7 separate regions of the Homo sapiens genome follow, and regions 1, 2, 3, 4, 5 and 6 are each linked to region 7. Evidence: promoter capture Hi-C in 16 types of primary human blood cells and fetal thymus (Javierre and others, 2016). All regions are on one chromosome and are shown on one strand. Each heading gives the region's core, a stretch centred on a gene start or on the middle of the fragment in contact. The rest is flanking DNA. Distances are from core to core; before and after follow the strand shown.

The links. Contacts are between HindIII fragments. The CHiCAGO score rates a contact against its expected background, and 5 or more counts as called.
Region 1: a fragment that was not itself captured here is called in contact with the fragment with the promoter of SEC61G in region 7 in 3 of 17 cell types (monocytes, total B cells and fetal thymus); the score reaches 8.1 in monocytes.
Region 2: a fragment that was not itself captured here is called in contact with the fragment with the promoter of SEC61G in region 7 in 5 of 17 cell types (monocytes, naive CD8 T cells, total B cells and 2 more); the score reaches 7.7 in monocytes.
Region 3: a fragment that was not itself captured here is called in contact with the fragment with the promoter of SEC61G in region 7 in 12 of 17 cell types (non-activated CD4 T cells, total CD8 T cells, activated CD4 T cells and 9 more); the score reaches 14.3 in non-activated CD4 T cells.
Region 4: a contact is called between a fragment that was not itself captured here and the fragment with the promoter of SEC61G in region 7, in 2 of 17 cell types (non-activated CD4 T cells and fetal thymus). The highest score is 5.8, in non-activated CD4 T cells.
Region 5: a fragment that was not itself captured here is called in contact with the fragment with the promoter of SEC61G in region 7 in 2 of 17 cell types (non-activated CD4 T cells and naive CD8 T cells); the score reaches 5.4 in non-activated CD4 T cells.
Region 6: a fragment that was not itself captured here is called in contact with the fragment with the promoter of SEC61G in region 7 in 11 of 17 cell types (naive CD4 T cells, fetal thymus, total CD4 T cells and 8 more); the score reaches 13.3 in naive CD4 T cells.

What each region holds. Positions count from the first base shown.
Region 1 is chr7:55,550,813-55,553,546 of GRCh38, reverse strand. All of the region lies in intron 1 of VOPP1 (VOPP1 WW domain binding protein), which reads left to right. Among named protein-coding and RNA genes, the nearest start is that of VOPP1, 20 kb to the left of the region's middle. The HindIII fragment of the contact is 3,615 bases long and covers 1-2,734 here.
Region 2 is chr7:55,510,589-55,513,461 of GRCh38, reverse strand. All of the region lies in intron 2 of VOPP1 (VOPP1 WW domain binding protein), which reads left to right. Among named protein-coding and RNA genes, the nearest start is that of VOPP1, 60 kb to the left of the region's middle. RefSeq lists enhancers at 157-678, 679-1,200, 1,542-1,691, 2,355-2,404. The HindIII fragment of the contact is 1,764 bases long and covers 381-2,144 here.
Region 3 is chr7:55,573,020-55,575,878 of GRCh38, reverse strand. VOPP1-DT (VOPP1 divergent transcript) reads right to left here. Exons shown (of 17, transcript NR_187585.1): 1 at 2,562-2,859. Among named protein-coding and RNA genes, the nearest start is that of VOPP1-DT, 1.7 kb to the right of the region's middle. RefSeq lists enhancers at 1,445-1,584, 1,915-1,994. The HindIII fragment of the contact is 1,657 bases long and covers 562-2,218 here.
Region 4 is chr7:55,642,162-55,644,861 of GRCh38, reverse strand. No RefSeq gene overlaps it. Among named protein-coding and RNA genes, the nearest start is that of VOPP1-DT, 71 kb to the right of the region's middle. The HindIII fragment of the contact is 785 bases long and covers 1,058-1,842 here.
Region 5 is chr7:55,489,230-55,492,004 of GRCh38, reverse strand. The region is part of intron 4 of VOPP1 (VOPP1 WW domain binding protein); the gene reads left to right. Among named protein-coding and RNA genes, the nearest start is that of VOPP1, 82 kb to the left of the region's middle. The HindIII fragment of the contact is 8,751 bases long and covers 1-2,775 here.
Region 6 is chr7:55,589,552-55,592,283 of GRCh38, reverse strand. VOPP1-DT (VOPP1 divergent transcript) reads right to left here. Exons shown (of 17, transcript NR_187585.1): 7 at 2,126-2,732; 8 at 1,820-1,980; 9 at 1,577-1,629; 10 at 1,303-1,381; 11 at 815-841; 12 at 547-600; 13 at 335-377. Among named protein-coding and RNA genes, the nearest start is that of VOPP1-DT, 18 kb to the right of the region's middle. The HindIII fragment of the contact is 8,588 bases long and covers 1-2,732 here.
Region 7 is chr7:54,757,728-54,760,667 of GRCh38, reverse strand. SEC61G (SEC61 translocon subunit gamma) reads left to right here and starts at 1,457. Exons shown (of 4, transcript NM_014302.4): 1 at 1,457-1,510. It overlaps SEC61G-DT (SEC61G divergent transcript), which reads right to left and starts at 1,355. Exons shown (of 3, transcript NR_110040.1): 1 at 1,144-1,355. RefSeq lists an enhancer at 319-1,254 and a silencer at 1,488-1,807. The HindIII fragment of the contact is 2,422 bases long and covers 1,047-2,940 here.

The DNA of each region.
Region 1 (2,734 bases), core at 37-2,536, 790 kb before region 7:
GTTAAGGGATATATTTAAATGAAAACCAGAAATGTTAGGCCTAGATCTATCATCTAAATAATATTTATTTTATGGTAAATGAATTGGAGTTTACAGCCAAGCCTAGTGACCTTTGGGTCTGCAACATGGGAAAACAGCCCGTTGCTCCCCAGGCTAGTCTTTTTATTTTCCTCACTCTGGGAAGCAGTCCCCTTAAAGAGGTTTTTACTGGTGACTCCTCCCAAGTACTGCAAAAGTAGAAATGAAAATTTCTCCCCAATAAAATCCTGTTAGGTGTTGGAACTAAAATATGAATCTAAAATATAAAAATAGCCTGTATAACAGAGGAACTGCAGCTCCTTTCCAACAATGCCTCCTGCTAGGGCAACACATATATTGGAAATGAGATTATGAGATATAATTAACTTGTCTGCCTATACTGTTACTCTTTGAATGTTTCCAAGTTTATTTTAGGAAGATTGACAGTCATAATTATATTGTCAAGCATTTGTCATTTTTGCTGTAGCAATAACACTGAAACTCAGACAAAAAGCTCCCACCTGACTTTGATTGGAATGGTGCAGCAGACAGATTTCGGTTGCATGTCTTTTCCTACAGCGCCTTAGCATTTGTCAGCAATTTGCAGCTAGCAGCACGTATAATTTTTTCTTCGGGTTCAGGAGTTTAGTCTAGGAGGAAATCCTGTTGTGTTGCCATAGTGCTCCGTCACCTTTCTGGGTTGAGCATGGCTGAGTGACTCAGCCCATGGGAGGTTTCCTAGGAGAACAGGCTCCACTTGCTGCCTCTCTGCGTGAACTCCGTGTGCCGGCAACCTGGCGACCAGACTCCTGCCTTCGGAGGGGCTGGGGCTCCAGGACCTGAGTGCCCCCCATTGTTGGAAGGCGGTGTCATATGGTAGGAAAAGGGCAACTTTGGAGCCACACAGACCTGGTTCCAGCACTTTCTTTTGAGGCATCAATCACTTAGCGTTTTCCTAGACTTCATTTGTCACCCTGGGAAAATCATGCTTGTGTTGCTGGGCATGTGTAAGCATGGAGATCCATCCTGTGTGAGTGTGTAGGTCTGAAAAATAATGGGTGTCTAATAAGGGGTAGCTGGCATCCTTAATATGTGTCATCTGCTTTCTGATAGAGGCAGCCATTTGATTTAAGACAGAAATGGGAAACTATTTCCCACCCCATTCCTATGAAGAGAACAGCATTTTGCGATAGTCTGAGCTTCTTGGGAGGAGAGGCATTTTGTACGGAGGTTTTAAAATCAGCTAAATTACCTTCTTTCTGTCATTGCTATTTCTAAATCCAAAAGGTGCTTATATTTGTCCATCTTACCCAGTCCCTCAGTGGACTGCCTTGCCCATGCAGTGCATGTTAATAACTAGCAGAGGCACAGACCTCAACCCTTGTAGGCCCACTGCTTCCTTTTCCACAGGGTCACTGGTCCCTGACCTGGCTAACCTGGCTCCCAGGGCTTTCCCTCCACCTCCACACCTTGTCAACACCTTTTTTTTTTTTTTTTTTTTTTTTTTGGACACAGTCTCACTCTTGTTGCCCAGGCTGCAGGGTCACTGCAACCTCTGCCTCCTAGGTTCAAGCGATTCTCATGCCTCAGACCCCCAAGTAGCTGCAACTATAGGCATGCGCCACCATGTGTGGCTAATTTTTGTATTTTTAGTAGAGACGGGGATTCACCATGTTGGCCCGGCTGGTCTCAAACTGCTGATCTCAAGTGATCCACGCTCCTGGGCCTCCCAAAGTGCTGGGATTACAGGCGTGAGCCACCCCGCCCAGCCTTCAACATGTATTTTGTATTTGATAATTTCCTCCTTCAGATTTTTTCTGCTTTCCCTCCCACTGCGTGTAAGATGAAAGAGAGGCCCTCTTCCTCCACCTCAGCCCTGACCGTGTTGAACCCTTCCCCACTTGGAGTTTCTTTCCCTTTTTCCTAAGGGAAGGGGGAAAAACAAGGTGACCTTTTCCATTTCTAGAAATGGAAAAACTAGACCAGAGCTTATTGACAGATTTCCTGAGGGAAAGAAACACCAAGTGTTTGTGCATTTAATTATTTGCGTCTGATGGGAGAATTGACTTTCGAGGCATGCTTTGGGGAGCACTCAGAACCCGATTTTGAAGGGAAAGCATTTTGTGCTGTTTCAGCCCTGCTGGACGTATTTGCCAGCACAGGTGTACGGTGTGCACGTGGGGTTCTGGTGCTCCACGCCCTAACATTCCAGGACATTGCTTTGATGTCAGTGAAAACTTCCATTGACTCTAGGAGTGATGAAACAGCAGCAAGCATGGCAAATAGGTTTATTTCACATGAAGCCTTGCTTGTCTTCTTGGTAGCGACAGCCTGGAGTGCCTTGCTGTAGAGAAGTCTGGAAGAATGCTATGGCTGATGAGGGAAGTTATGTCTGCGGGATGGTAGGGCTCATGGTTTGTTGTTTTCTCTGCATAACAGGGAGATAATTTGCCAACCCAACCAGAGCACTCAGTGTCTTCATGCTGTCATGTGCCCCTTCGCCTGTCACCATGCCCTTCCCTCTTCTCGGGCTGTCCTGTGTGTCTCTTAGTTCTCATTTTAGATACAGCCTTCTCCAGGAAGCCTGCCCTGATTCCTTCAAGCCAGTGTAGCCTCTGACTCTAAAATTTAATTGCTTTATTATGAAAATAAGCCTAATGCATTCTAATTGTGGAATAATTGGAAAGTAGAAAAATATACAGACACGAAAATAGGT
Region 2 (2,873 bases), core at 13-2,512, 750 kb before region 7:
TCAACTCCACTGAGACGATAGGGAATTCACACACTGCCAAGCTCAAAGGAGAGCATGGAAGGGAAAAAATGGATGGCTGCATGTTGTCAAACCGCTGGATAAGGGGAAGATAGGATCCATGAAACAGAATTAAGGAATACGATCATCAGTGTCATGGCTTACCTAGTACCTGTAATTTCCAGAGCACCACTCAAGTGGGAGGGAGCCAGTGTGTAGGGATGATGGGAAGTTAGCGATGAGGGAGGCAGGGCCTGTCCTGGAGGAGCCCAGGGTCCAGGGCTTATCCAGCAGGAGGCAGAGCCCATTCCTGCCAGCACTATCGATTTTGACCAGGCTGCTTTCAGGCCCTATTCCCAAGTTTCCTGTTGGAGCGTGAAGCTTCTTTTTAAAGTGCTTATATTACCCTGTGTTGTTGGCTGCCTCTGGGTTCATTTCTCTGCTGTGAATAATTAATGCTGTGAGTGGATGAAGTGCTGTTCACAGGTGTCAAATCAAGATCCAGAGACAAGGTTGGCAGAGCCAGCACCGCTGGGCCACTTTACCTGCCTGCTAGGGGCGCAGGTGCCAGAGTCAGTCCCAGGCTCCCTGGACACAAGGTCACCTCTCACCAGCAGGTGCCCTTTATGGCTCTGTGGACAGACTCTGAGCCTGATGGGGAGGCCCCTCTGTGCAGAAGTCAGCTGGACTCCTTCGCTGAGCTCTCCTGCAGCACTGGGGCCTTCCAGGATGCGTGGAAGAGGGCAATGGGGGCGGGGGCGCTTCCCTAGCTGAGTGCTCCATACGCCTGCTGCAGACCCTCACTATTTTGCCGTCAGGAGATGGAGCACAGCCTTCGGGTTGCAGCCTGGAGGGGGCAGATATTCAAGAGCAGAATTTCTTTTCTCTCAGTTCTTGTTGGATTTATCAATGAAGATTCCTGGTGTAAGTTGAAGACACCGTCTCTATAACAGGGAGAAATTTTCACTGGTGATCTTCTGCTTAAGAACTTTAGACCCCTAAAATGTGACCTTGATTTATTTTTCTTTTCCTTTTTTTTTTGAAACGGAATCTCACTCTTGCCCAGGCTGGAATGCAGTGGCACGATCTCGGCTCACTGCAACCTCCGCCTTCCAGGTCCAGGCGACTCTCCTGTCTCAGCCTCCTGGGTAGCTGGGATTACAGGCACGTGCCACGACACCTAGCTAATTTTTGTATTTTTAGTAGAGATGGGGCTTCACCATGTTGGCCAGGCTGGTCTCGAACTCCTGACCTCAAGTGATCCGCCTGCCTCGGCCTCCCAAAGTGCTGCGATACAGGTGTGAGCCACTGCTCCCAGCTGAGCTTGATTCCTTTTAACTGTACATTGTGACTATGCTTCTAAATCAGTATACAAAGCCCCTCATGCTTTTTGATAGTAGCAGAATATTTCCTGGGGATGCCTCATCATTCATTTATACAGGTAGTGTCTATATTTAGGAGTTTTTGTTTTGTTTAACTATTGAAGGTTCTCAGTTCCTTGTCTGTAATTCTTATAAACCCAGTAAATCTGAGACGGGTGTCAGTTAATTTAGAAAGTTTATTTTACTAAGGTTGAAGATGTGCACCAGTGTCACAACCCCAGGAAGTCCTAACAACACGTGCCCAAGGCAGTTGGGGCACTGCTTGGTTTTATATATTTTAGGCAGACATGAGATATCATCAATATATGTAAGAAGTACATTGGTTCATCCGGAAAGGCAGGGACAACTGGAAGCAGGGAGAGGGCTTCCAGGTCACAGGTAGGTGAGGGACAAGTGGTTGCATTCTTTTGAGTTTCTGATAAGCCTTTCCAAAGGAGGCAATCAGAATATGCATCTATCTCAGTGAGCAGAGGATGACTTTGAATGGAATGGGAGGCAGGTTTGCCCTGAGGAGTTTCAGCTTGAATTTTCCTTTTAGCTTAGTGATTTGGGGATTCAAGATATTTTTCTTTCACATTCTAAAATTTTAAGCTGTGCTCCTAAACAAATTTTTAATAATTCACTTGGTAGCAAGAACATATTTGAGCAGACATGAGGCTATTTATAGTCTTTAAAAGTTCCGTTTGGTATGATGTTTCATATATTTTAATGCTGGCTGTATTACATGGAGTGAATTTGCAGAAATTGAATTGCTGAATCAAAGCTTATACTTATATTCTACTAAATACCGTCCGACTGCTCTCCCTGAGGGTCATCATGATAATAGGCTATCATTGCCTGGGAGCACCTGTTTCAAACTGTCCCCGCCAGCACTGTGTTAACATTTTAATCAGTTTCCTTTGTATGCTTTGAGTTCATATTGTTTCCATCTTTGCTGATTTCCCTTTCTGCTGCAACATCCCTTCTGTTTAAGTCAAAACCTTTACAAGGTTCTGAAACCAAGGTGGATACCTGGACTATGCATAGAGGAATGAGATGGGGTTGCTCTCAAGGTCATGTCTGGTGTAGAAGACAGAGGCCTCTAACAGTTAACCACAATATTGCACATGGTGAGAACTGTAGAAATGGGGGTCCTGCCAAGGGAGGAGCAGGACAGATTGGGGAGGGCAGGGGATGGTGTTGGGAGAGACCTCACAGGGCTGATCTTTGAAGCGGGGTGGAGCAGAGACTTTGGGAGGAGTGCAGGCATGGGAGCATGAAGGTGCAGGGTGCAGTGGGGACCATGGGGCTGGAGTTCAGGGTGCCTGGTGGATGGCAGGAGATGAGATGGGAAAAAGAGGGAGAAGCCTAGCAAGAAGAGTCTCAAACGCCGTCTGAGGGGCTGAGACTCCCTCCTGCATGCAGCATTGTGGCAGGCCAGGTCTCACCAACACAGGCCTCCATAACAAGTGTTTCAGTACTGACTGAGTGGTTAAGTTAAATATTAAAAGCTAA
Region 3 (2,859 bases), core at 141-2,640, 820 kb before region 7:
TCTTGATTAAAGAAACCCATAAAGGTAGTAGCAGCCCCAAACTCCATTTGCACAACTCTCTCTTGAGTATGCCAGCAATCGCTTTCTTGAGTGCTTTTTGCTTTGCAATAAATCATACTTTCACTATTTTCGACTCATCCTTGAATTCCTTCTTGTGATGGTGTCAAGAGGCTGGACACCGGCGGAGGTCAAGATCCCCTTGGCATTTGGGGGACCTCCCCTAGCCCACTGGTATCAACATCACATCCATCTCCTCACTGCTCTTCCAGCCTCCACCCTTCCCTCCACCCTTCCCAACCCTGCCCTAGTCTGTTTTCTACACAGCACTAGGGCTGATGCTTTGAAGGCTTAAGCCAGATTACATTACTTTTCAGCTCAAAATCCTCAAATGATATCCCATTTCTTTCAGAACTAAATCCAAGATCCTTATAATGGACTACAAATCTGAGCGTCCATTTCTTCTTTGAATTCAGATTCTACCCCTGCTAAGGGAGCACAGAGCTCCAGCCTCACCGATCCTGTCAGGAAATTCCTCAGGCCCGTTTTTCCTGCCTCAAAGCTTTGATTAATAGTCTTGTTTTGCCCCCTTTCCTACCTTTGGGTCTCTGCTCCTGGCAATTTGCCATAGGGGCCTGGCCTGGCCCTCCTATTTTTTTTTTTTTTTGAGACGGAGTTTAGCTCTTGTTGCCCAGGCTGGGGTGCAATGGTGCGATCTCGGCTCACCAAAACCTCTGCCTCCCGGGTTCAAACGATTCTCCTGCCTCAGCCTCCCGAGTAGCTGGAATTACAGACATATGCACTACCATGCCCGGCTAATTTTGTATTTTTAGTAGAGACAGGGTTTCTCCATGTTGGTCAGGCTGGTCTCGACCTCCCGACCTCAGGTGATCTGCCCTCCTCGGCCTCCCAAAGTACTGGGATTACAGGCATGAGCCACTGTGTCCGGCCGACCCTTGTATTTTTAATTACACTCAGTCTTACCTTCCAAATGTTTCACTCAATTTATTTTTCTTTCTGGCACTTATATACATATTTATTTATTTATTCTATTCTCTGTTACCCCTCACTAGATTGAAATCTGCATGACAGCAGCCACTCTGCCTTTTATGCCACTGCTTTGTCTATTTTACTCAGGGCTGTATCCGAAATGTCCAGAATAGTGCCTGGCCCAAAACAGATGCAGATAAATATTTATTGAATAAATGAAATACATGTTCATCATTCATGTAGACTCCACAGTTTTGCAGGGAAGCTACAGGTCAAGCCCAGTCTCTCTCTTATTTGTTTCCTTTGGCAACACACATGCTCCAGGCTCTGGGTCCTTACTCCTCAGGGGCAGCTGAGCAGACCAGGACATGTCCAGTCCTGCCCCAAACAACTCATCAAGAACTTTCTTCTAACCCCAAGTCCAACTTTAACAGTTGTTCTAGTGAATGCAGCTTTATCTTGTAACTTTTTCAGTGGTATCTGATGCCCTTATAATTTGTGCTCAAGGAAACAGCCTGGCTGGTTAGCCTACACCCCATCCTCCAACCATGCCAAGCAACCACCACATCATTCAGGACCAAACAGAGAGCACACAGGAGAGGTATCAGACTGAGGTGAAAGCAGAGTCACAGTTCTAATTTTATTCTTGGAAAAAAACTTGCACAAATTACAGGAAGTCGAGCTCAGCAAAACAATCTTCCAGGCAGAGAGAGATGCAGAAGGGAGGTTATGTCAGACACTAGTAGGTTGCTCACAATGCAACAGAACCACAATTTGCACACGAATACATCGTGGACACAAGTCAAAGTTCCATTTTAACCCATTAATGATGGAAACAGTGGGATGACAAAGGTGCTTCAAAGGAGAATGCAGGCAAGTGACCTACACACACAGTCAAAAGCGGGGAGAAAAGAGAAAGGAAACGCTGGGAATGAAGTGGCTCAATCAGATAGGAAGCTGGTTATGATTCTCACCTTAAGCAGGGGTCATTTGTCTTATACACACACACACACACACACACACACACGTTTTAATGGAGACAGGTTCTTGCTGTGTTGCCCAGGTTGGGGTTGGTGAACTCCTGGGCTCAAGCAATTCTCACACCTCAGCTTCCCAGACTGCTGGGATGATAGGCATGAGCCACCCTGCCTGGCCCATTTGCATTTTTACAGGACGAGATCACTTCTATCCCCACTGGAAAAACATTTGTCTTGCTAACACACAATAAGCTTTCAGCTTAGTTTTCTACAAGTTAACTTTTCCATTAAAAAGAGTTGTAAAATGTCCTCATTGTAAATAGTAAAACTACTAGAGTTCAATGGCGTTTGGCAGGCTTGTCAGATAGGTGCCTTAGCATGACTGAAGGCCATAGGCATTGTTTCTGTCTTACTTGTAAGTTCTGGCTCTGACAGGTATAGTCAGGTGGTGCATGCTCTATATTAATCAAATTAGGCTTTGAAAGCTGGGAAAGAGTTGGGGACTTGCCTCGGGTGACATCTGTTCGTGTGACCCCCTCCTTCCACCTCCTGTACTGCGCAGCTCATGTCCTTTATGACCCTCTGTGATGCACCCACCTCCTGGTCTCCGCACTCAGCATTCTGCATCAGGTGGTTTAAGCGACTCTCCCTCCCTCTAGGCTACGGGAGCAGTTTTCTTGTCCTCCTCTCAGCCTCCAACTCAGGATCTGGTACATCTTACAAGTTTAATAGTGTTTGTTGAATAACCTCATGAAGAAGGTGGGATCTGAGCTGTGTTGTGAAAAAATAGTGTCTGTGAGGACATGGAGGTGGGGTCAGCGGAGGCGAGGACAGCGCGAGCTCCGCACAGTTTTCTGCTGCGGGAGGGTGGCCTGCAAGGCGGGGCCGGTTGCGG
Region 4 (2,700 bases), core at 201-2,700, 880 kb before region 7:
TAAATACATATTTGTATAAATGTGCATGTAATAAACATAATGCAAACACACACACCAAACACACACAGATGCACTTATATTTATACTACAGGCCATAGGGCTAGCTTTTCACCTACTGGCAGGGGAGGGAACCGAAACGGCAACAGTAATCTTTCCCTGCAATTTCTATCTGACCCTACACCTGTAGCAAGCACTAAGCCAGATAATTTTAATCAGAGCAGCCCAAATTCTGTCACCTTCCACTGGGAAAGTTGTTTACTTTTCACAGATATGTCAATCAGGATAAGCGCTTTTCCTTAGAACACCTAAGGTGGGTGTATAAAATGGTGTCCCTGTATGTCTGGGTAGAGAAAGGTCTTTTTGCAAAGAGGAAGAAAGGCTAGATCTGAGCCTTCAGGATGTCCTGGGGTCAGTGTGAGTATTGGTGAGATGAAATGGTACTGGGCTGGAAAAACACGTAGGCTAGGGTAGGACCAGCTCCTCTGATACCCTCCAATATGTCCCATGAGGTGAGACAAGATGGTATCTCCTGTGAATGGCCCCAGAATAATAGGAAAGCTAAATATTCACCTCCAATTTTTTTCTCCCTCTGAAAAAATAACATGGTTACTGGAAAACACTGTGTGTGGCACTGTGCAGTTTTGGGAGAAGAGCAACTTGGTCAAAGTGAAATCATTCCTCTTACGCTTTATGCATGGCTTCTCTCGGTCTGTAGTTCAAGAAGATGTCTCAGATTCACTCTCAAGTTCTGGGATATTTACAAAGATACTCTAAACTGTGGAAAATTGTTAGTTGAATTTCTGTGGAAGTAAGTAGAGTGAGATAGTTTCTATTCTAACAACTTGCTGACATTACCCTCTCTGGTAACAAATATCTTTAAAGAAGCATATTTAAACACATTATTGTATACTATACAGCTTGGTAAACACTTTAATTTACTGAATTAATACAGTTAACAACACATCTTTTAAGTAGCATTCTTAGATTTATCTTTCATCATATAAACACTTCACTACATACATTACGTACGTTAGATCCACTCATTAAAATAAAAGCTTTTTGCCATAGAATGTTTCTTACCCAAAATGCAATGGTAAGAAACATCTTTAAAAAAATATGCTTGGTTGGCCATGGTAGGGTGGCTCACGCTTGTAATCCCAACATTTTGGGAGACTGAGGTGGGGCAGATCACCTGAGGTCAGAAATTTGAGACCAGCCTGGCCAACATGGTGAAACCCCATCTCTACTGAAAATACAAAAATTAGCGAGGTGTGGTGGCGGGCACCTATAGTCCCAGCTATAGGAGGCTGAGGCAGGAGAATTGCTTGAACCCAGAAGGCAGAGGCTACAGCTAGCCGAGATCGCACACCACTCCAGCCTGGGTGACAGAGTGAGACTCTGTGTAAAAAAAAAAAAAAAAAATGCTTAAACACTTTACACATGTATGATAGCTTATTAAACACTTAAATTCCCGGAATTAATCCAGTTAACAACATATATTTTAAGTGACATTATCCGTTTTATCTTCTTAACATGTGCCTGCAAACCTAGTGAGGTGTATGTAGTGAAATATTAGACGTACTCTCTAACATAACACTCTTAACAAGAAAGATTTTTAAATGCATAATTTAAAAAATCTATAAATAAGCATGTTTAAGGACTTCATTACATACTTTACAATTTGGTAAACACTTGCATTTAATTAATACTTACATTCACTGAATTAACACTATTATCAACTCATCAGTAACATTTTTAGAATCATCTTTTAAGCATGTGCTTATAAACACTTTACAGTGAGCCACGTTCACTCACTGATGTAACAATTTTCAGAACAAAGCTTTTAAAATGCATGGAAAGAGGCTGGGCGCGGTGGCTCACACCTGTAATCCCAGCACTTGGGGAGGCTGAGGCGGGAAGATCACCTGAGGTCAGAAGTTCGAGACTAGCCTGGCCAATATGGTGAAACCCTGTCTCTACTAAAAGTACAAAGAAAATTAGCCGAGCCTGGTGGCATCCACCTGTAGTCCCGGCTACTTGGGAGGCCGAGGCAGGAGAATCACTTGAACCTGGGGGGCACAGGAAGTTGAAGTGAGCCAAGATTGCACCATTGCACTCCTGCCTGGGTGGCAGAGTGAGACTCCATCTCAAAAAATATATATATAAATAAAATAAAATGCGTGGTAAGAAAAATCTTTAAAGAACCATGTTTAAACACTTTATTACATACATTCCAGTTTGATAATACTTGCATTCACTGAATTAACATAGTCACCAACTCATTTTATCAATGACACACTTAGATCATCTTTTAGCCATGTGTCTACTAACTATTCCCTACATAGTATTACATCCACTCACTGAAATAACACTCTTCATTACAAAGCTCTTAAAATGAATAACAAAAGCATCTTTTAAAACATGTTTAAACACATTATTGCATACTTTATAATGTGGTAAGCACTTGCATTCAATGAGTTAACATAGTAACCAACTCATCTAATAAATAACATTATTAGAATTATCTTTAATGTAAGTGTCTACAACCTCACACACATATCCACTTACTAAAAGAACAGTCTTCACAACAAAGATTTTAAGAGGTTTATTTAAAGGTATTCTTTAAATAAACATATTTAAACATTTTATTATATATTTGCAATTGGTAAACACTTGAAATCACTAAATTAATACATTTAC
Region 5 (2,775 bases), core at 182-2,681, 730 kb before region 7:
CTTTTCCTTAAACATTATTTCACATATAAATTTCTGTGTAGGAGCGGTAATACCCCTGCCATTTTTAGTGCTTCTGGACTAGATACTAATTATGTTACTAAATGGTAATTTGCTTAGATATTTTATTATTGCTGATAATTTGTTTTGTTTTCTCATGTTTTGTCTTTTATTCATGCATTCAACAAGTATTCATTGTGCAGTTACTAGTATTCCAAATACTTACAAAGACCATAGCAATAGACATTCTTGTACAGGTCACATGTAGTCTGTTTAGTGCATAACACCCAAAGTGACATCCCAGGGTCAAAATGAATTAGCTGTTTCTTAATTCTTGTAAAACATTGCCTTAGCCATCTAAAACTCCTACATACTGTGGTGGGTGGTGTGGACTTCCTTAGGACACAGGCCAGGGAGCTCTCTGATGACAGCGGGGAGCCAAGGGTCCTGGAGGGCTGGGCTGGCTCGGCTCATCAGAGCGCTGGTCTTCTGGCCAGGTGTAGAGTGAGGCTGGGCAGAGGGGTGTTGCTGATGTCTGCACCGCCATGCTCCCAGCCACAGTTTCCACCTGGGAGCCTGGGGATGGGACTGTCTATTGATTGCACACTGTGGATAGGTGGTCAGTTCTAGGAGCAGTGGATGCCTTCGCTTTTACAAAGTTTCAGTTAAGAAAAATGAATAAGTCCTAGAGATCTATTGTACAGTGTAGGACCTACAATTAATACAACTGTAATGTATAATTAAAATTTTGCTAAGAGGGTAGGTCTTATGTTAATATATGTTCTTATCACACAAAAATAACAAGAAGAGCAGAGAAAACTTTTGTAGGTAATAGAGATGTTTATGGAATAGAGCATGGCTATGGTTTTCTGGATGTGCCCCTGTCTTTAAACTCATCAGGTTGTAGGTCTTAAACATGCACAGCTTTTTGCCTGTCAGTCAGACCTCAATAAAGTGGTTTTTAAATAGGAGAGAAGTAGAGGGATTGAATGTAATAGGAGAAAATTATCTTCTCTCTTCTGTTTTCCTGAGAACAGGCTGTTATCAAGATGCAAAGTCATTTGCATATTTGTTCTTTTACAGCTTTTTTCCACCAGATACTCCACAGGGTTTTCCTTTCAGAAAGAATTTTCTTTATTTTAAAAAATGTTGCTCAGAAAAATATATATTTTCCACAGCAGTTCACTGAGAGCTGTGCCTTAAACTTACAGTCAGGTTAGTACCATTTTGAATCCGTAAGTGGATTTTAGCCTTTGATATTTGGAAATATTTGAATCGTTTCAGATTTGTGCTGCATCATAGGGTAAAGTGCAAAATTTCTGTTAAAATGAGAGATGAAAGCCGCCACTCACTGGGTCTCATCTGGATCAGTCAGAGAGGTTTTAGTACAGGGAGGAGCAGCCCCTGCCCCACTTGGCATGGGAGGCCCCACTGCCCCCAGTGCAGAAGGCCACATGTCCCTGGTCCGTGGTCCTGGCCGAGCTCAGAGTCTACCACTCATGTGAACTGGGGCTCTTGTGGTGAGTAGGTGAGGTGCTGAGACTGTGCCTGCAGCTGCATAATTCTTTTGAACCCTGGCATGCCAGGGTTTTGAGAAGAGAATGCATCCCTATGTGCACTCCTTTCTGGTCCCATCCCTCTGTTCTGCACAGCCCCACACCCCACCTAACCCCGCTCCATCTGTCTGGGAGAATCCCCAGCAACCAGGCGATTAGATCTGCCACATCCCTTATCTCACCCTGGAGCAGTGCCTGCTGGCCACTGGTCTCCACCAGCTCCTCTGTCTTCCACTTGGCTATCAGAAGGGTCTTAAAAAACAAAAAACAGAAGCACATCGGCCGTGCTATTTTTCTGCGGCAGGGTCTCTGCCAGCTCACCTGGCTCACAGTGTAAGTCCACAGTCCCTAGCTGAGGACTGAGGACGCATTCACAGCTTCCTCAGACCCATCCCCGCTCCTCTGTGTCCAGTTTGAGCGACCTCCTCTCTCTAGTCCTGCATCGCACTGAGGCCTGCACACGCCCTCCTTCTGCCTGGAAAATGCCTTCCTCCAAGGTGCTGCTCTGTGTTGTACCCATAGTGAAGTTGTCTCTGGCTGCTTCACATCTCCACTTTCTCCCTGGGTCCCCTGCCAGGGGCTTTACCAGCTTTAATGCTCCATGTTTACACTGGGCTCCCCACGGGGCTGTGTACAGGACTCATGGTCTCAGGCACCAAGTAGATGCCCGGCCCTCATCCTCAGGCTGGATGAACTGTGGGAGCTCCCAGGTTTGCAGCCTGGTAAACCAGGGTCGGAATACATCACAACTACAGTCACAGCCTGGAGCGCAGACCTGCCTGAATTGCTGTCTTGGCCCATATTTACTGCACACCTGCTGAGGCGCCTGCAGGAGCTCAAAACACTGCACAGCCTGGACACCTGCCCTCAGTCACCGCTGCATGCACAGCTCCAGCACCCGTGTGAGCTTTCACGCAAACAACTCTATAGTGACTGACCATCATGAGTGCGAGGGAGAGAAAGTTGAGAATGCTAGGAAACCATGTAAGTAGGAGACTCCATCTGGTGCACAACTCCAGGAAGGCTTCCCACGGAAGAGCCATTTGGATTAAGAATAAGTAAGCCCCCAGCTCTCTACAGCGAGTGGCTGCTGGTCCCAGCGCATCTTCTCTGACCAAAATGTAGACTTGGTTTGCCATCCGTTTTTCATTTTATACTTCTTGCAGGCCTGCAACGGTGTGGCTGATCCCAGGATATCCAGACTGTCATATGAAAGCAGGCT
Region 6 (2,732 bases), core at 138-2,637, 830 kb before region 7:
CCCACACTCCCCATGTGTACCCTGCAGAACAAGTGGAGGGCACAGAGGGTCTTGAAGAACAGGGATGCAGCCCCTGCTTCCAAGACACCTTTAGTCACTCCCTACTGCCCTTGAGGACAATGGGATACACATAGAAAGTCTAGCCTATAAGGGGAGTCCCCTGGTCCCCTTCCGTTCAAGGACAGGGTGGAAAGCCTCACTCCAAGGATGGTTGGGAGCAGAGACTCCTGGCCGCAGAGGAGCTACAACTCAAGGAAGTCACAGGAAAAGAGGGGGGGTGCAGCTGAGAGGGGTGAAGGGAATTCTGAAGCAGGGCCCTGGAGCTGTCACTCACCTGACACCCGGCTCACCCTGGATTCCTGGAGATCCTGACTCTCCTGGCTCCAGGAGCAAAGAGATTGGGGTCAAAAACCTCATTGCCCCCTCACAAAATCCTGGTATTTCTCACATTTTATTCTCTTTTGTCTCCTCAACAAAAAATTGGCAGAAATCCAACTGTCATTCCTCATCCACAAGACTGGTCCCCTTCATCCCTTTCCCAATTACCTTCTCTCCAGGGGGACCCAGGGCCCCAACACCTCCCAGGGGATCTTGTGGACCCTGAAAGAGGAAGAGAAATAGGTGACATCGCTTCAGGAGGTGGGGTTATTGCAGGGGCAGAGGCCCAGATGAGCATCCCAAGGTTATGGCAGTGGGACAGTGGGGGCCTCCCAGGGGAAGGGGCTTCTCAGGGGCGAAGAGTTTATGATCTGAGGAAAGGGACGCAGAGGATCAGACTCATTGCTCTGAAGTGGCAGGGGCTGGGATGACTCACACCAGTGCCACTGGGTCCAGGTAGTCCCTGCAGGGGAACAGATACACCAGAGGTGGGGAAGGGAAGTGAAATGGCACAATGAAGGAGTGTGGAGGGAGGAAGAGCAGTCAGGGCAGGGAGGCAGCAGTGGGGTGGGGGCTGGCCAGGCAGGGGTGACCATTTGGGGTCTGGGGTCAGTAGGGGTCACATTCACCATAGGACCCACATCTCCTGTTTCTCCCTTCTCCCCAGAGGGACCTGGCACACGCTATGCAGGTGCAGAAAGCATGGACCCAGGTGACCACCCACCCAAAGCACAGCCCTAGACTGATGGGTCCCACAGCCCCTCCACTCAGACCCCACATGGCCCCCAGGCTTCTGCCCCCACCAACCCAGTCCTTAAAGCATGTTGCTGGCAGGGTCTGGGACACACATCACCCCATCCTGACACTGCCTCTCAGCCCGTCCCCAGCCGCATCTCACCTATAGATTCATGAATCCTGTTCTACCTTTATTGCCTTTGGCTCCCCACACTCTGGCTCCAAAGTGTCCCTGGGGTCCCTGAGCTCTGGGCTCCCAATCTGCTCCCTGGGGAAGGAGAGAAGCAGGGACAAGGACATAGACATGGGTCATGGGTCAGGCATTCTCTATTCACGAACCCCATACATAGCTGGGTACCAGGCCCAGAGACCCCACTCCCAAACCCAGCCTCAGGGGCAAAGGGGAGTTGAAGGCAGAGCAGAGGCTGCCAGGGCCTTGCGTGGGGGCCGAGGGTTCACTCACCACTGCTACAGGCTGTTCCATGGACCAGTGAGTCCAGGGGGTCCAGGAGGGCCCTGGGGGAGAGACGAGAGTCAGAAACACCAAGGCAGGGAGGAACCAGGAGGGAATGAGGTTAAAGGCCAGGGCGTCAAGGTCATGGACACTTTGATGCCCTTCTTCCTGGGGTCCCCCACCTCATCCTGGAGGAGAAGGCACAGGAGATACCAGAGGGAGGAAATGATAGAGCTCAGGAGTCAAGCCCACCTCAGCCCTCTCATGTGGAGAGAAGATTGGTCGGGTTCTCTGGGGTTCTCCTCTTGGTCTCCATCTTCTCCAGCCACACCTGGAGGCCCAGCAGGACCAGGAAGTCACACAGGACTCTGCACCCTATCACAGCCAGGCAGACAAATGGGGCCCTTTTCACCCTGTGGGGCAGGAAGGAGGAGTCATGGCCTGGAGGTGACCCTCACCCTCAAACACCCACAGGAAACCTTTCATAGCCCATCACCCCTCAGCCCACAGACCCCTCCCCAAGAACCACTCCCAAGGTCCCCACTCTCACTGGGACACCTGTCTCTCCTGCTGATCCAGGGGGTTCCTGAGGGCCTGGGCACCCTGGCGGGGGGCAATGGGTCCCTTGATCCTGCTGCACCTCACTCCCTAGGGGGGAACCCTGAAAGTTGAGATGAGTGAGATCCCCAGGGAGGAAGACCCAAGCCCACTCATACCAGGGCCCTCAGAGCACAATTCCCAGGAGAAGAGCCCCAAATCAGCTGCATTCTGGCTGACTCTAGATTCCCTCTGCCCAGTCCCACAGCACCTGCGTAGATCTGGATGCCACCTCCACCCTGCCTCAACACCCCCTTTCCTAGTTCCCTCCTCCCACTCCCCAGGAACCCCAGGCTCCCTGCAGGGTAAGGGGGCCAACTGGACCTCATTCCTCTTCAAGCTGGGTCCACACTCTGAAGCAGAGATTTGGGGAAGGTGGAGCTTCACAGAAAAGAGAAGGGTGAGGGCTGGCGAGAGGAGATAGGTTCAGAGAGATGGGAGTGGGGAGTGGCATGGAGCAGGGTCAGGGTCAGGGAGGGGTTCAGGTCACTTGGTCCTTGGTCCAGGCAGGGCTCTGGGAGTCACACTCACAGCAGTGCCTAGGAGGCCTCTCTCTCCTGGGAAGCCC
Region 7 (2,940 bases), core at 208-2,707:
AACCACTGTATGTGTTACTTGATTTTCTGTGTTTTGCTGAAAATACTGTCAACTCAGACATTTGGTGGTTGGGGTGAACTTGCCAACATGTGATTTTATGTTTTTTTGGAATGAATTATTTTTTTGAAAATTATTTATTGAGCATTTACTGTGTTTAGCACTTTACTAGATGCTATATTATACCCACTTGGAGCTTATGGTCTAGTAAGGGGATTTACAGTGTAGGGAGACAGACCGAGGAATAAATAAATAAATGTTAATACAAATGCTATGCAGCAAATGAAGAAGGTATTGTGAAAAAGGAAAAAAGAGCATGAGATAGACAGGATTGCCTTAGATGGTCACTATAGGCCTCTAAGGAGATGACACATGGGCTGAAGTCCCAGGGATGAAGAACTAGTCAAACGCATCTCAGTCTGTTCAGAATTTAAAAGTGACTCTTAAAGCTAAGGCAAGGTATGTGTAGTGTGTATGGACCACCTACAGTCAGATATACGGAGGTGTGTGACCTCTAACCCTGACCCACTGAATCAATATCTGGAGGTTCTGGGGTTACAAATTTCATTTACTAAAAAACTTAACAGGAGATTTCAGTTACTGAAGAAGTTTAAGAAGCACTGAGAGTTGTAACACGTCTTAATGTTCCATCAGCTCTTCCTGAGTTATATTGTTCCTCAGATCCCGTTATGCTCCATTGCTAAAAGGAAACATGGCCGGGCGCGGTGGCTCACGTCTGTAATCCCAGCACTTTGGGAGGCCGAGGCGGGTGGATCGCGAGGTCAGGAGTTCAAGACCAGCCTGGCCAATATGGTGAAACCCCGTCTCTACTGACGGTTTCAGCCATCCGGCGGGGGGTTCCTGGAATGCATCCTTGTGGGTAAGTGGGGAGCTGTGTGTACATTATGACCACTCCCGTAACCAAACCTAGCGTTTGACAAAGGCCTCAATTACAGCGGCATTCATTACCGTGAATGACAGCCAAAGTCAAAGTTTGGGGTGGGGATACTATTTTGAATTAGGCCATAACATTATATTGCTCATAAGCTTCATTTCGACCAACATTATATACATACAAAAAGTATGTACCGTAAGGACACACATCAAGCTGGACCGCAGGAAAAAAAACCACAACTTAGGATTTACCTAGTCAGCCGCTACTAGAGAGCAAGCACCGCGCAAGGCCGCTGGGGCTCGTGCTGTGGACGTGAGTGGGTTGAGGTCGGGCTGGTGGGGTAACCCGGGATCCAGCCGGAAAAAAGGGATAACGCTAGACTCACACTCCTAAGGAAGGCCAACGCCCCAACTAGCGAGCTCCGCAATGCATCTCTTCCAGGAAGCGTGGCCGGGCGCACGTCGCGCTGCGCTTGCGCACTGAGGTTTCGCGTAAGGAACCAATAGGACGGAGGAGTGGGCGGGCTGTTGGCAGAAACCCGGATTCCGGTTCCGGTGGGCCTCCATCAGCAAGCTCCAGTGCTACGTGTCCCTGGCATTTTAGGTGTCGGTTGGGTAGGTGAGTTTCTTCCCACCGGTCGGTACGGGCGAACGGGGCGGCCACACCTTTGCGACTCTTGGGGGCAGCGGGCGTGGGCGAGCCGGCGTGTCTCCCCGGGCGGCCGTCGCGGGGCGGGCGGTAAGTGGTCCCCTGGCTCAGGGCCGGGGTCTGGCCGCCGACATCCCACCAACTCGGCCTCTGGCGGAAGGCAGACCCAGGGCCGCGGACTCCCGGCGAGCTGGGTGGCCGGCCCGCGGGGCTCCAGGGCTTAGCGTCCTGCCCCGGCGTCTTCTGTGCTGCAGCCAAAGATGATGTCCTGCTGCCCGATCCCTTCGGGGTTGGCTCTGTGTGCTGTTGTGGAGTCCTGTCTGGGAAGAGCTGTACTCAGCTCTGGTCCTGCCGCCGCTTCCGTGGTTTAAAGTGAGAGCATTGGTCTAGAGTCTAGTTCGAGAGATCATAGTTGGTTTTTGGATCTCTACCCCTGACATTGAGTGCGGTATTGTGTGTAGCGTGCGTTTTTCTGGATAAAGAATTCTTAGCTTCCTTCGTGACAACTATGATTACAAAAAGTTTAAGCCCTTTGGATTTCAAGAGCAAAGTTGAGTGAAATACTGAGAAAACAGACATTACTGTGTTTTTGCCCCCAGAACGTTGCAGAATTCCTGGTGTTTCATTGACATTATTTCATTTCGTTGTCCACACCCTACACTAAGGAAGGCAACTGGGGCTTACAGAGGTTTACATTCCATAGCCAGTGATTTGAACTACCACCTGGCCACTGTTCTGAGTACTGGAAATGGAGGAAAATACAAATAACACCCTGGCTGCTTTACTTACTATAGCAGTGGCTCTCAAAGCTAAGATCGGATAACATTTCTATTGGGTAATAGATTCCTCAAAAGAACCTGTATGGTAAAATATATAGCCCTGTTTCCTTAAAAGATGTGTTCAAATCGAAAAGTTTGAAATTTAGCTAGTAGCTTCTCAGAATTTGCGTCTTCCTTTAGCCATTCTTTATACTTTAGAAAAGTATGTTGTATTGGCACGTTTTAGAAAAATCAAGGTTGAAATTCACGTTTGCCTCTATTCTAGGCTCTTGCAGCACCGTAGTTGGCATTCACTGTACAAGACACTGGCTTCTGCGTAGTTTAAAATAAAATATGGAAAGTAATTGTTGGATCTCAACACTGATGGTTCCTTAGGAGCGGTGAGGGGACTGTAGAATGAGAAATGGATGGGACTGCAGAGTGAGAAAAGGAATGGATGTGTTACCAATTGCGTAACCTTTTTTAACCTTTTAATAGAGATAGGCTTTTTATATTGCGTGTGCTGTTCTTTGTCAGTGAAGATATCATGAGTAAGATCTGTGCTTTTCTTATTGCCTTTGATAATTAACTGAAATTTCCAAAAATAATATCAATTTAGGCTTTGGAGTTTGTTTTTTGTTT